4 separate regions of the Homo sapiens genome follow, and all the other regions are linked to region 1. Evidence: promoter capture Hi-C in 16 types of primary human blood cells and fetal thymus (Javierre and others, 2016). All regions are on one chromosome and are shown on one strand. The core of a region is centred on a gene start or on the middle of the fragment in contact, and the rest is flanking DNA. Distances in the headings are between cores, read along the strand shown. Region 1 holds the start of SAMD7 (sterile alpha motif domain containing 7). Region 2 overlaps PHC3 (polyhomeotic homolog 3). Region 3 overlaps PHC3 (polyhomeotic homolog 3). Region 4 overlaps GPR160 (G protein-coupled receptor 160).

The links. The method cuts DNA at HindIII sites, captures the fragments that hold promoters and counts their contacts. A CHiCAGO score of 5 or more calls a contact.
Region 2: a fragment that was not itself captured here is called in contact with the fragment with the promoter of SAMD7 in region 1 in 2 of 17 cell types (total B cells and naive B cells); the score reaches 5.6 in total B cells.
Region 3: a contact is called between a fragment that was not itself captured here and the fragment with the promoter of SAMD7 in region 1, in 1 of 17 cell types (total B cells). The highest score is 5.0, in total B cells.
Region 4: a contact is called between a fragment that was not itself captured here and the fragment with the promoter of SAMD7 in region 1, in 1 of 17 cell types (total B cells). The highest score is 5.1, in total B cells.

What each region holds. Positions count from the first base shown.
Region 1 is chr3:169,910,031-169,912,856 of GRCh38, reverse strand. It overlaps SAMD7 (sterile alpha motif domain containing 7), which reads right to left and starts at 1,285. Exons shown (of 9, transcript NM_001304366.2): 1 at 1,036-1,285. The HindIII fragment of the contact is 322 bases long and covers 1,118-1,439 here.
Region 2 is chr3:170,097,771-170,100,714 of GRCh38, reverse strand. The region is part of intron 14 of PHC3 (polyhomeotic homolog 3); the gene reads left to right. Among named protein-coding and RNA genes, the nearest start is that of GPR160, 61 kb to the right of the region's middle. The HindIII fragment of the contact is 1,943 bases long and covers 481-2,423 here.
Region 3 is chr3:170,114,396-170,117,342 of GRCh38, reverse strand. It overlaps PHC3 (polyhomeotic homolog 3), which reads left to right. Exons shown (of 15, transcript NM_024947.4): 10 at 1-117. All of the region lies in intron 2 of LOC105374209 (a long non-coding RNA gene), which reads right to left. Among named protein-coding and RNA genes, the nearest start is that of PHC3, 66 kb to the left of the region's middle. The HindIII fragment of the contact is 2,730 bases long and covers 206-2,935 here.
Region 4 is chr3:170,063,439-170,066,138 of GRCh38, reverse strand. All of the region lies in intron 2 of GPR160 (G protein-coupled receptor 160), which reads right to left. Among named protein-coding and RNA genes, the nearest start is that of GPR160, 27 kb to the right of the region's middle. The HindIII fragment of the contact is 1,880 bases long and covers 439-2,318 here.

The DNA of each region.
Region 1 (2,826 bases), core at 36-2,535:
GAACTTTAGAAAGACAGTTCATACCGAAGCACTTGGCAGTGCTGCTAAAATGTATTTCACTTTTCCTAAAGGCATAAGCTTTAGGACTTTTCTAACTGCATTTCACCATAGCACATACCCTGGAAAGCATTGAAGACAGTGGGTTACGTGCTGGCTGCTGTCACTTCTTATTTCTTTTTACTCTGGAAGCTCATTTTCATTAGACCTATCCATGTCTTCTTGAAATGTCAGGTTCTAGGCACAATTACAAGTATTGTAAAGAAAAAGGTAAACCTTTGACATCATTAAAGAAGTCAAAATTATGTAATTTCTACTGGACTCAATATAATTTATGTGCAACTACAGTTTGTATAAATTATGTTCACTTTCTTCAAAAGATTGTGAAGCAAAGTCCATTATATATAAATCTGTAGAGACTAAAGTGAAATTCTAGCAGTACTCATATAATGGAACTGAATAGTAGGTGTTTTAGTTAGATAGTCTTAAAGAATGAATTAAGGAATATCAATATAGATTTTATTTCATGATTATCATTGATTGTTCCTCAATGTTTTTCTGAAATTTTCTACTCTGACATTTCATGGTTCATACATCATGACAATTTTTGGAATATAGATATCTATAGTAATGGGGGGCCATTAAAATAATAATATATAGTAAATAAACAGCAGTAATACATAGAGGTAGGTACTTCATCTGTTTGAAGATAATAAAACTACAGTAAATTTACATACAACTTTGAACTGACTTTATCTTAAATAAACTTCATTTTACTTTCACTTAAAAAACTCCAAAAACTAAGACCAGGCAGTGTTTATTTGGTAGGAGTGGTATATCATCTTTACTCGTTAGTAACTTCAGTCAAGTAGGAATTTATTAGCTCACATACTGTTAGTAATAGCCAGTAAAGTCTACACATAAACCTAAGCATTTCCTTTAAGATAAAGATGTCCTTTTATTTTATATGTGAAACATTTTACTCAGAGTAACTGGCCTCAATTTTGGGCTAATCAATGTGTAGAGTTACATACTTACATCCTCTATGAAGACTTCTTGTCTTTGATATTGCAGATGGAAGAACCATACAAAGACTTTCTGGCCTTCAACTGCAGAAGCTTCTCTGGCTGCGGGTTGAAAGGTACATCTGACAATTCTTTCAAAAATGGTCTTAATTCAGTTTAACCTTGCTTTAAATACAAATTCAACTAAGTTGATTAGTCCTATTTCATGACAGAAACTTTGCCCTCTGATATCCTCTACAGATAGGCTAAAAGATGTTAAGCCCAAGGAAAGTGCCCTGCAAGGTGCATAAACCTGTCTCAGAGCTTAGCCTTTAGTGTAATCCTTCCTTAGCCTTTAAGATGCTTTGTGGGCATTCACTTAATACCACTGTTCAACTTGACACAAAAGAAATATACTATGCAAATAAGTAATAAGCTTTTCTTTGATGGAACTATATAGCCTATTCCATATTTCCAACAGGTTTCAAGTGGAAACATTTCTTTTGCGAGTAGGAAAAAACCTAAGTTATTTTCCACAGAGCTGAAACATTTGATGAAAGATGGCAGTCTATTTTAAAAAGAAGCTTCTATAATGGACAACTGTACTTTAATTCTCACAGGCAGTGAGAAAACCCTTTATCATCTGTGTGAGAGCTGTGATCTATATAAGAGGGAAAACACGGAATTTTGAAAATGTGACCTGTTATATTTGCTAGAGAAACATTTATAGCTTGAAAAAGAACATCCATATTTTTTGATTCCTAGTAATTTACTAGTAGGAAGTACAAAATAAGAATTGAATATAAGAAATTTAAGTTGTGTTTCAAGTAATGCTTTAGGCTTCCAGTTTGAAGGTAACCTGCTCCTTTGTTGACACACATTTTTATCATTGGCTGTTGAACTCATTATAAGAAATAGCATGTGGAACTGACTGTATTTATTCCAGGGTTATTGTTCATAAAGCAGTGGTCAACAGCAGGGACTTAGATGACCAACAGACTCAATAAGCCTCAGCACCACCACTCATTAGCTGTATGGCCTGGCCAAGTTACTGAACTTCTCTGAGCCTTAGTTTCCTCATCTCAGAAGAGCCCTTCTTGGGAAAGGGAAGGCAACAAGGTAGACAAAATGCTTGAATAGTTCTCACTAAACATTAGCCATTATGTTAGGTAACTATATTGCACAGAGTCCTCTGTTGAGGATCCATGGGAGGAATTTTTCTCAGCTTGTAGTACTAGGGACAATTGTTTTGTTGTTGTTATTGTTGTTGTTGTTGTTCTGAAAAATAAGGCCAAAATAAAACCTCAGGAATCACGTAACTAGTGTGTTGCATTCTTTGTGTTGGTTAGTAGGAAGTTCAGGACCTGCCTTTAGGCATGCATTTTATTATATTTTTATTTATTTATTTTTGAGACAAGTTCTTGCTCTGCCACCCAGGCTAGAGTGCAGTGGCACAATCATGGCTCACTGTAGCCTCTATGTCCCCAGACTCAAGCAATCCTCCCACCGTAGCCTCCAAGTAGCTGGGACCACTGGTGCACGACCGCATGCCTGGCTAATTTTTTTTCTGTATTTTTTTGTAGAGACAGGCTTTCGCCATGTTGCCTAGGCTGGTCTTGAACTCCTGGACTCTAGCAATCCACCCACCTCGGCCTCCCAATGTACTGGGATTATAGGCGTGAGCCACCATGCCCAGCCTAGACATGCATTTTAAAACCAGAAATGATCTATGGCTTCATCTTATTTTTCCTAACATTATTTTCCCTTTGCCCTAATTTTTACTAAACTGTCTTTCTTGTGTTGTATATGCATTTTGAAGTGTCTC
Region 2 (2,944 bases), core at 203-2,702, 190 kb before region 1:
CCTCATTCTTGCATCATTTGAGTTAAAAAAACATAAAACTTAATATTCCTCATAACTTAAAATGCTTGTCTTATAGAGTTCATCTAGACACTTAATTTTGTTGCCAGGTATTTAGAAAACATTATATATCATAAAAAGGACACAGCTATTATATAATTTAGAATTGCTTACTACTATTTTAGAGTCTGGTTAATATGACTCTCTTCTTTACTTATGAAATGGGAGTGTTTCCAAACTGCTTTGACAGGCCAAATAATAAGCTTATTTGTGTGATTAGTTGTATCACCTTTCTCACAGTTTTCTCTGCATAATGCCTATAGTTTAAGGTAATCTCATACCAGAAAATGCCTTAGTGTTCATTTCTTTCTGCTTCTCTGGACTTTGTAAATTTCGTTTTGAGCTTCTTTTAGCTCTCATTAAGCGCTGTTTGTTTTCCCTGAGTAGTCTACTCCCAAGCTTTTCTCATAGGATGAACAAGCTTGTAAATTTTGTAATCTCTTTTGTATTTTGTTTCTTTCCAGTTGAGATAGGCTTCCTTCCCTCTTTAACCAGGGCATTTATATTTACTCCTCCAGTTTTCTCTTCTCTTTGTATATCGTCTTGTTAACCATCCTGTTCAGACTATGTTAGAGCTTGTATGCAGTAGACCAGAATCTCAGAGCTGTTAACAGAATGAAAAATTACCGCCTTCTAATTTTCTCTGCATTAAAAAGTTATCTACAGGAATAATTCTTATTTTCAATTTACTGCGGGTTATCTTCTTTAACCTTTCCTTGCTATGGTGAACTGCCTTTTGCAGAGATCAGTTTGTCCTCTGTTTATTGAAGGGTGAATCCACAGTAGATTTGATTTTTCTGTAGGCATATAAACTAGGAATCATTTTTTAAAACATGACTATTTACTGGTTTTTGTAATATCAGTATTGGGACTTGTTTATTCTGTAGTATTGAGTGGCAGGTGATACCTTTTCACCAACCTTACTGTGGTCAATTTTTGTGCAGGGTGTTTTATTTTGAGTTTAGCTGGAGAAGTGATGCCAGACACTTGAAAGATCAGTTGGGACCCATGTGCAGAGGTCCTTGCCTGTGCTGAGAGCTGCACTACACTTGCTTCTGGTGAGGTGAAGCTAGCTCAGCTGACTGGCTGTGTCAGTTGGTGTATGTTTTGTACACATCCCCGGGATCCAGGCATTTTACCAAAGTAGATGTTAATGTCAGAAACTCAGAACTTTATCTCAGTATACCTTGAGCACTTAAAATTGTTTTTAAAATATATTTTTCTGTAATGAGATTCTGGAAGCATACTTGCTTCCAATTTTTCTAAGTCACTTTTTTTTAAATTTCTATACTGATGTAACTATACTTTTTTTGTGGTTAGCTTAAGAAAGTTGTGATCTAAAATGCATTCCTATTTGATCGTGCTAATTCCCAAAACACTTTTTGTTCTATATTATTTTGCTAATACATTTACTGTTCACCTACAAGAGGATATTTGAAGAGGAATCTCACAATACAGAGGAACAGGAATGTGCTACATATTTTCCTCATGGAGAACTCCTTGTTTCTATTCCCAAATGTAGCTCTTATAGTTCTCATTACTTCTCATTGCTCTTGTTTTCTGAATCTAAGTAAGTCCCACCCTATCTTTCTCTCTCTTCTTTTCTTTCCTGTGTTCTTGTAAGTAAGACTGAAGAGAGAAGAACATTAGTTCTTTCATAAAAAGAAGGATGAAGTCACAACTAGATGCAAGATTAGTCAGTTTTGTCTGCCCAGTTTTGTTGAGAGCTACCTCTGGGAAAAGAAAAGGGGCTTTTCTATGGTGAGTAATCCCATTTCAACTATAGTTTCTTTTATAAGATAAATGTGCAAAAGCATAATAATTTCGTAGAGGGTATTGAAATGTCAATTTTTCAAAGTCTGAGAAATTATTAAAATAGAAATTGAAAAGCTAGTTGTTATATAGGAAACAGTAAAGATACAAGTAACAGAGGACGTGAGAAAAGAAATAAGCAAGAGAAAAAATGGACACACAGCTGTACACAGGAAAAAATGTTTGTATTACTCTTACAGATAGCTCTTCTATAGCAGATTATATTTTTGTTTATTGTGTATTCACTAATTCAGTCCTTATTGACAAATATTATGTATTCAGTACCTATAATGCTTTGTGCTTTGTGCTGGGGTTGTAAGACATCATAATCTTACATAAACAAGAGGATGATACATTTGCAAGTAGAAAGGATAATTGAACTAGCAAAATTGTGGCATCCAAAAGTGTAATGTAACTATTTTCATTTTTCATTATCTTTTTCTTTGTGTTTTCCCTTAGAATGCTGATTTGAATAAAATAGAAAAACTTAAGCTGTCAGTTTTTATGTGTATTCTTAAATTCATCTTAAAATTTTACTGTCTCTCAAGAAAGCTTCCATATTTTTATATTCTCTCATCTCAGCTACTTAATTGATTACCTTTCCTATTGGTTTCTTTACCCTTAATGGGTAAGTTTATTGAGTAATTTGGATGTGAAAATTTGGTAGACAGTAAAAACATTTGAGTTTCAGGTAGATACTAGCATTGTTACCTGCTAAAGCACCTGGTTTAGACTGAGAGCTAAAATATTGGTTATATGGCAGGAAATTCGCCAGCAAGCTCATAATTTCAATGAGAATTGTTTTCTTAACAAAAGTGGAGACAAGCCCAGTGATAGTCAAGTCAAGCAGCGTAATACATTTCAGCAGCATTGCAATAGATTGGTAATACAGTCTTGAGAAATTTGATATGTCCCGAGTGAACAATAAAAATATTTTAAATGTACTTTTCAAGTGAAGGTCATAAATTAGGATAAGGTACAAATGATAATGAAAGTGGTACTTACTTGAGAAAATATTTCTAGATTGTTATTTAAATGACAAAACATATTTTTGTTTCCTCTTTACCTATATGTG
Region 3 (2,947 bases), core at 321-2,820, 200 kb before region 1:
ATGCACAGTAGCATTCCCAGTATAGAGAACAAACCTCCACAGGCTATTGTTAAACCACAGATCCTAACCCATGTTATTGAAGGCTTTGTGATTCAGGAGGGATTGGAGCCATTTCCTGTAAGTAGCAAGCATATTTGTGTGTGTGTTTGTAATTTATATAACATTATTTTAAAAGTTACATATTACTGTTCTCTAATAAAAAGCTTGTAATTTTATTTCAAGAAAGTTGTCCATTTTAATCTAGCATTTATCTTTCTACTTCCTTTATTTCCAAATGTTTATGTAGAATTTTATGCCAGCTAAGTTTAGATGCATAAACTAAGGGAAAAAATGAAAAAAATTTCAGGACATATTTTTATAATTTTTAGAGAAAGGTAGTTGGAAGTTTATTCAGTGAAATCAACTTTTATATTTTTTCTTTCTTTTTTTTTTTAGACAGGATCTTGCTCTGTTGACCAGGCTAGAGTGCAGTGGTGCGATCATGGCTCACTGTTACCTTGACCCCTGGGGCTCAGTTGATTCTTCTACCTCAGCCACCTGAGTAGCTGAGACTACAGGTGTGCGCCACCGTGCCCCACTAATTTTTGTATTTTTTTGTAGAGACAAGGTCTTGCCGTGTTTCTCAGGCTGGTTTTTAACTCCTGGGGTCCCAAAGTGCTGGGATTACAGGTGTGAGCCATGGCATGGCGCTCGGCTCATTTTTTCTTTTTAAGGGAACTGAAATGACAGCTGAAGTGTACTACTATTTTTATTTTTATTTATTTATTTGAGTTTTTGAGAGAGAGTCTCGCTCTGTCACCCAGGCTGGAGTGCAGTGGCACTGTTTCAGCTCACTGCAACCTCTGCCTCCCAGGTTTAGGTGATTCTCATGCCTTAGCTACCTCAGTAGCTGGGACTACAGGCATGCACCACCACGCCTGACCAATTTTTGTATTTTTAGTACCGAAGAGGGGGTTTCACCATCTTGACCAGGCTGGTCTCAAACTCCTGGCCTCAAGTGATCTACCGCCTCAGCCTCCCAAAGTGCTTGGATTACAAGTGTGACCCACTGCACCTGGCCATAAAGTGTATTATTTTAAATCATCTGAAGTTACATCTGAAGCTACCCAATTGATGGTTTGTAATTAGCAAATATATTTTCTCATTCCTAAATTTCAGCCTTCAATCATATTTTTCAAATGCTTTAAAATGTCCCGCTCAAAATGAAGGTCCTCTATCACTACAGGTCTTACAACTTGAAGCTAAGCTGTACATAATTTGTATGCTAATATCTAGAGATAAACATTTTTCCTTAGAAAATATATCAAAGACAAGCATATATAAAAATATGAAAAATTTTTTGAAGGCCTTTTGAGTCATCTGGATTTTCAGATTCATGGGTGAAAATCTTGCATTATGATAGATAGCTACCCAATCAGTTGTTTTTGTGTTCAATTTCGTGTGTGTGTGTGTGTGTGTGTGTGTGAGAAACTTGGATTTCCTATAACAATTCTCATACAGTGGATGGAGGAACAGTCTTTTTTCCCTGTCTGCTCCATACTGACTGGGTAACCTTTGTCAAGTCATTCAAACTTTCTGATCTTTATTTTGCTTATTTGTCAGGTGGAGACGGTGCTTTGCTCTTAGAGTTGTCGAGAGAACTAAATGTGCATAAATTATTCTGTATGGTACCTGGCACTTCATGGCCATAGCCATTATTATCTGTTATCACTAGTGAGAGCCATAACTTTTATTTTCACATTATAAAACTAATACATGTTCTAAATGGAAGATTTGGGAAATGTACAGGGCAAATGATCCCCATTAATACCACAATATGTTTATGTCTATATATACCACAGTACACATTAATACCACAGTATGTATATGTGTATACATATGTATTGTGGTATATATGTACATATGTATTGTATATATGTACATATACATACTGTGGTTTTAATGTATATGTGTTTGTGTATATAATGTATATATGTTATAGATACATACATATAATCAAGATTATGGTACATACAGTTCTCCTTTCACTGAGGAAATTTGAGTATTTTCTCATTATTAATAGTATTGGAAACATTTTGAAAGGTTACATAATATTTCACTTTATGAACATCCATAATTTATGTAATCTTTCCATTATTGTTGGACATTAGGTTTCCATTTTTTCACTGTTCAAATAGTTCTGAAAGGAATATCTATATATATAAATCATACACATTTTAAATAAGTTTCTTAGTATGAATTCCTAGAAATAGAGTTATTATGTCATATTACATAGATATTCATAAGACTCTTGATACGTATTGCTGAATTATTTTTTGGAAAATGATTTAAATTTATTCATCTGTGAGAAGTGTATGCCCTTAGCATTGAATGTGAGTTTTTCTTTAAGCAATAACTTCTGTAAATTTTAATTTCACTTGAGGCATATTAAATATCTAACTCAAATGAACAAAATGTTTAAAAAGTTTGTGAGTAATTATACTCTAAAGTTAAATGTAGAAGTTTCTGTCCAATAAGCTGTTGTTCCCCATATGTGGCAGATATTGGAGACTTAACCAGCATTCTTGAGGAATAAGATGTTCTAGTCATTCTGTTTTTTAAATTAGCTGAGGGCTCACCAGTGAATCAATGAATATATTTGATCTGAGTTGTTTTTGTTGAAAATACTTCTAAAATAGGTAGTATTCCTGAGTTAACCAAGTATACTGAATATAAGTGAATATTTTGATGTTAATTTGTTAATATTTGAGGATTTTCCATTTCTTTTGTGATTATAGTGGATTAGTTTGCTAAACTAGGATTCAGGAGACTTGAGTTCTAGTCCTCATTCTGTTTTTGTAAACAAATCACCTAAACATTTTGAATTTTAGTTTTCTTATCCAGAAAATACATCCAATAATTTTGTCTTGATCATTAACCCTACAAATAAAAAGCTTTGTGCATGAAA
Region 4 (2,700 bases), core at 129-2,628, 150 kb before region 1:
AAAAAAAAGAAAAAGAAAAAGAATAGTGTCAAGTAATCTTCTATATATACATGAAGAAACCCTGGAAGGACACTTAAAAAGTGAGCACTGGGCATGTGTGCATGCCTATATCCCAGCTACTCAGGAGGCTGAGGCAGGAGGATTGCTTGAACCCAGTAGTTTGAGTATAGTCTGGGCAACATAGCGAGACCCCATCTCTTAAAAAAAAAAGTTAAAGACAGTGGTTACAGGGGTAGGAACTTGGCAGATGGGGTCATGAATGAGATGAAGACTTCAGTACATTTTTTTTCCTACTATGAACATTCTGCTAAACATGTGACTGTATTAAGTATTCAAAAAATTAAACACATTGAGTAAGGAAAAAAACAAGTTATCTACAAATTGGTACAATTCTCAATTACACAAATAATTTAAGTATTTAGTTTACTTTAAAAAGCTTTTTAATATTTCATGAAAGAAACTTTCCAACATAGAATTCTACACCAAACTAAATGGTCAATTAAGTGTAGGTATAAAATGAAGCCACATACTCAAAAATGTTTTACTCACATGAAGTTCTTAGGAAGCCAATGAAAGAAAGGCATACGTCATCAGAATGAGGAATAATAAACTAGGAGAGCAATACATGCGGTCCAGGAAATGGGATGCATTAGAAGAGAAGAAAAACCATGTAGAGTACAATTCGAGGATTCCGAGGTTGGTGAAGATTATCTAGGCATCAGATCCAGAGTGCACAATCTAAATTAGAGTAGGGCACATGGCTATGGGAGAAATTCCTCCAGGAAGGTGGAAATTCCAAATATCTTTGAACATACCAAAAGATTTACACAAAAGAGAAGAGTCTGTGGTTGAATTAGCGATAAGTATATAGAAAAAAAAGCAGACAGATAACTGAAAGGAAAACAAAAAAGTTTAGAAAGGAAATGTAATTGTAATGTACGATACTCATTAGCTATTTTATTTTAAAATAAAACTTTATTTTTTAAAATAATTTTTGTTTCAACTTTATGATGACAAATAATTTTCAAGTTTATTTCCTCATTTGTTTAAATACAAAGCTAAACCACAAACAGGTACAACAAAGATACTATCTCACATCTACACTCCCGTCAGATCCTCTTCGGCTGACCACTCACCAGGCTGACTGGGGGAAGAGACTTTCTTAGGTAGCACCGTTGTGAGGCCCAGGGTGGGGTGGGGGAATCAAAGGCGAGGACAGGCTCTCATACCTGCTTCCATTCAGATTTACCTGGGACCAGGGTGGGCAGGAGACACCAGGTCATGACTCCCGAGTCTCACTCAGTAAGAATGGGTCCTGCATAGCTGGGTGCGGTGGTTCACGCCTGTAATCCCAGCACTTTGGAAGGCCGAGGCGGGCGGATGACGAGATCAGGAGTTTGAGACCAGCCTGGCCAACATGGTGAAACCCCGTCTCTACTAAAAATACAAAAAATTAGCCAGGCGCGGTGGCATGTGCCTGTAGTCCCAGCTACTCAGGAGGCTGAGGCAGAAGAATCGCTTTAACGCGGGAGGTGGAGATTGCAGCGAGCCGAGATTGTGCCACTGTACTCCAGCCTGGGCGACAGAGTGAGACTCTGCCTCAAAAAAAAAAAAAAAAAAAAAAGAAAAGAAAAGAAAAGAATGGGTCCCGTGTAGGGAGGGTCGAGGCCGCCACCTACTCCTCCAGCCTTGACAGTCTAGGTGAAAACCTTGGCCTATCTTAGATTCCCGGGGGTCTCGGCCCTGCCCGCACACCTGGGCGCCTTTCTCTGAGGCTGGCAGCCGCAGTTCGGGTTGGGGGATCTGGGCTTGTGTACTCACCCCCGCCAGCTCATGGCTGCGACCTCGCAGGAGCCGTGGGTGTCTGACAAACACGAGGCCTAGACGGCAGCTCTGGAACTTTCAACCCAGCAGGACGCGGGGAAAACTGGCAGGGGTATTAAGTACGTAATTTCTGGTCCCACTACAAATCTCTAATTTTGATTAGAATAGAGTATCATCTCAATCTCTTCTACAAAAACAAAAGCAATGCCCCCCCCAAAAAAATACAGCCGCTTCACTCACTTCAAGACCTATGTACATGTAAGTTGTTTCCTGTGTTTTATTATTATTTTTTAATAAATTCAGCGTTCACATTTCTACAAAGAATTAGCCCAGTTTCAGGAAATTCTGCCCGGCAGGGAAGGCAAGCCACACTCTCCTCACCCACGTCTGGTTTGACTTCACACCCCGATGCTTCCAGGTGCTCAGAAAAGCCGCAGCGGGTGGAAGAGGAAATCTATGCCGGCCCGCGCTCAGGGCCACGAGCTCAGTAAGCTTTCGAGAAAGCACGGGGAAGACAAGCTTACTGCCCAATCTTTTAAAAATATATTCATACACTTCAAAGAGCGCCTGTCCAGATGTTAGGAGAACAAGAGCTTGGAGCCATCCCGTCCAGGCCTTTGGGAGACAGCGTCTTCCTCATACCTCGTCGCGGTGTGGGGGACACGTCCCAGCTCTTCCACCGGAGAGAGGAGACTCGCGCGGCTTCCTAGTTCACGTTTGGCTCTAATCCTGTGCTGAGGTTTTTTTTTTTTTTTTTTTTTTGCTTTTTTTGTTTGTTTTTGAGACATGGTCTCACTCTGTCACCCAGGCTGGAGTGCAATGGCGGGATCTCGGCTCACCGCAACCTCCACCTCCTGGGTTCAAGCGATTCTCCTG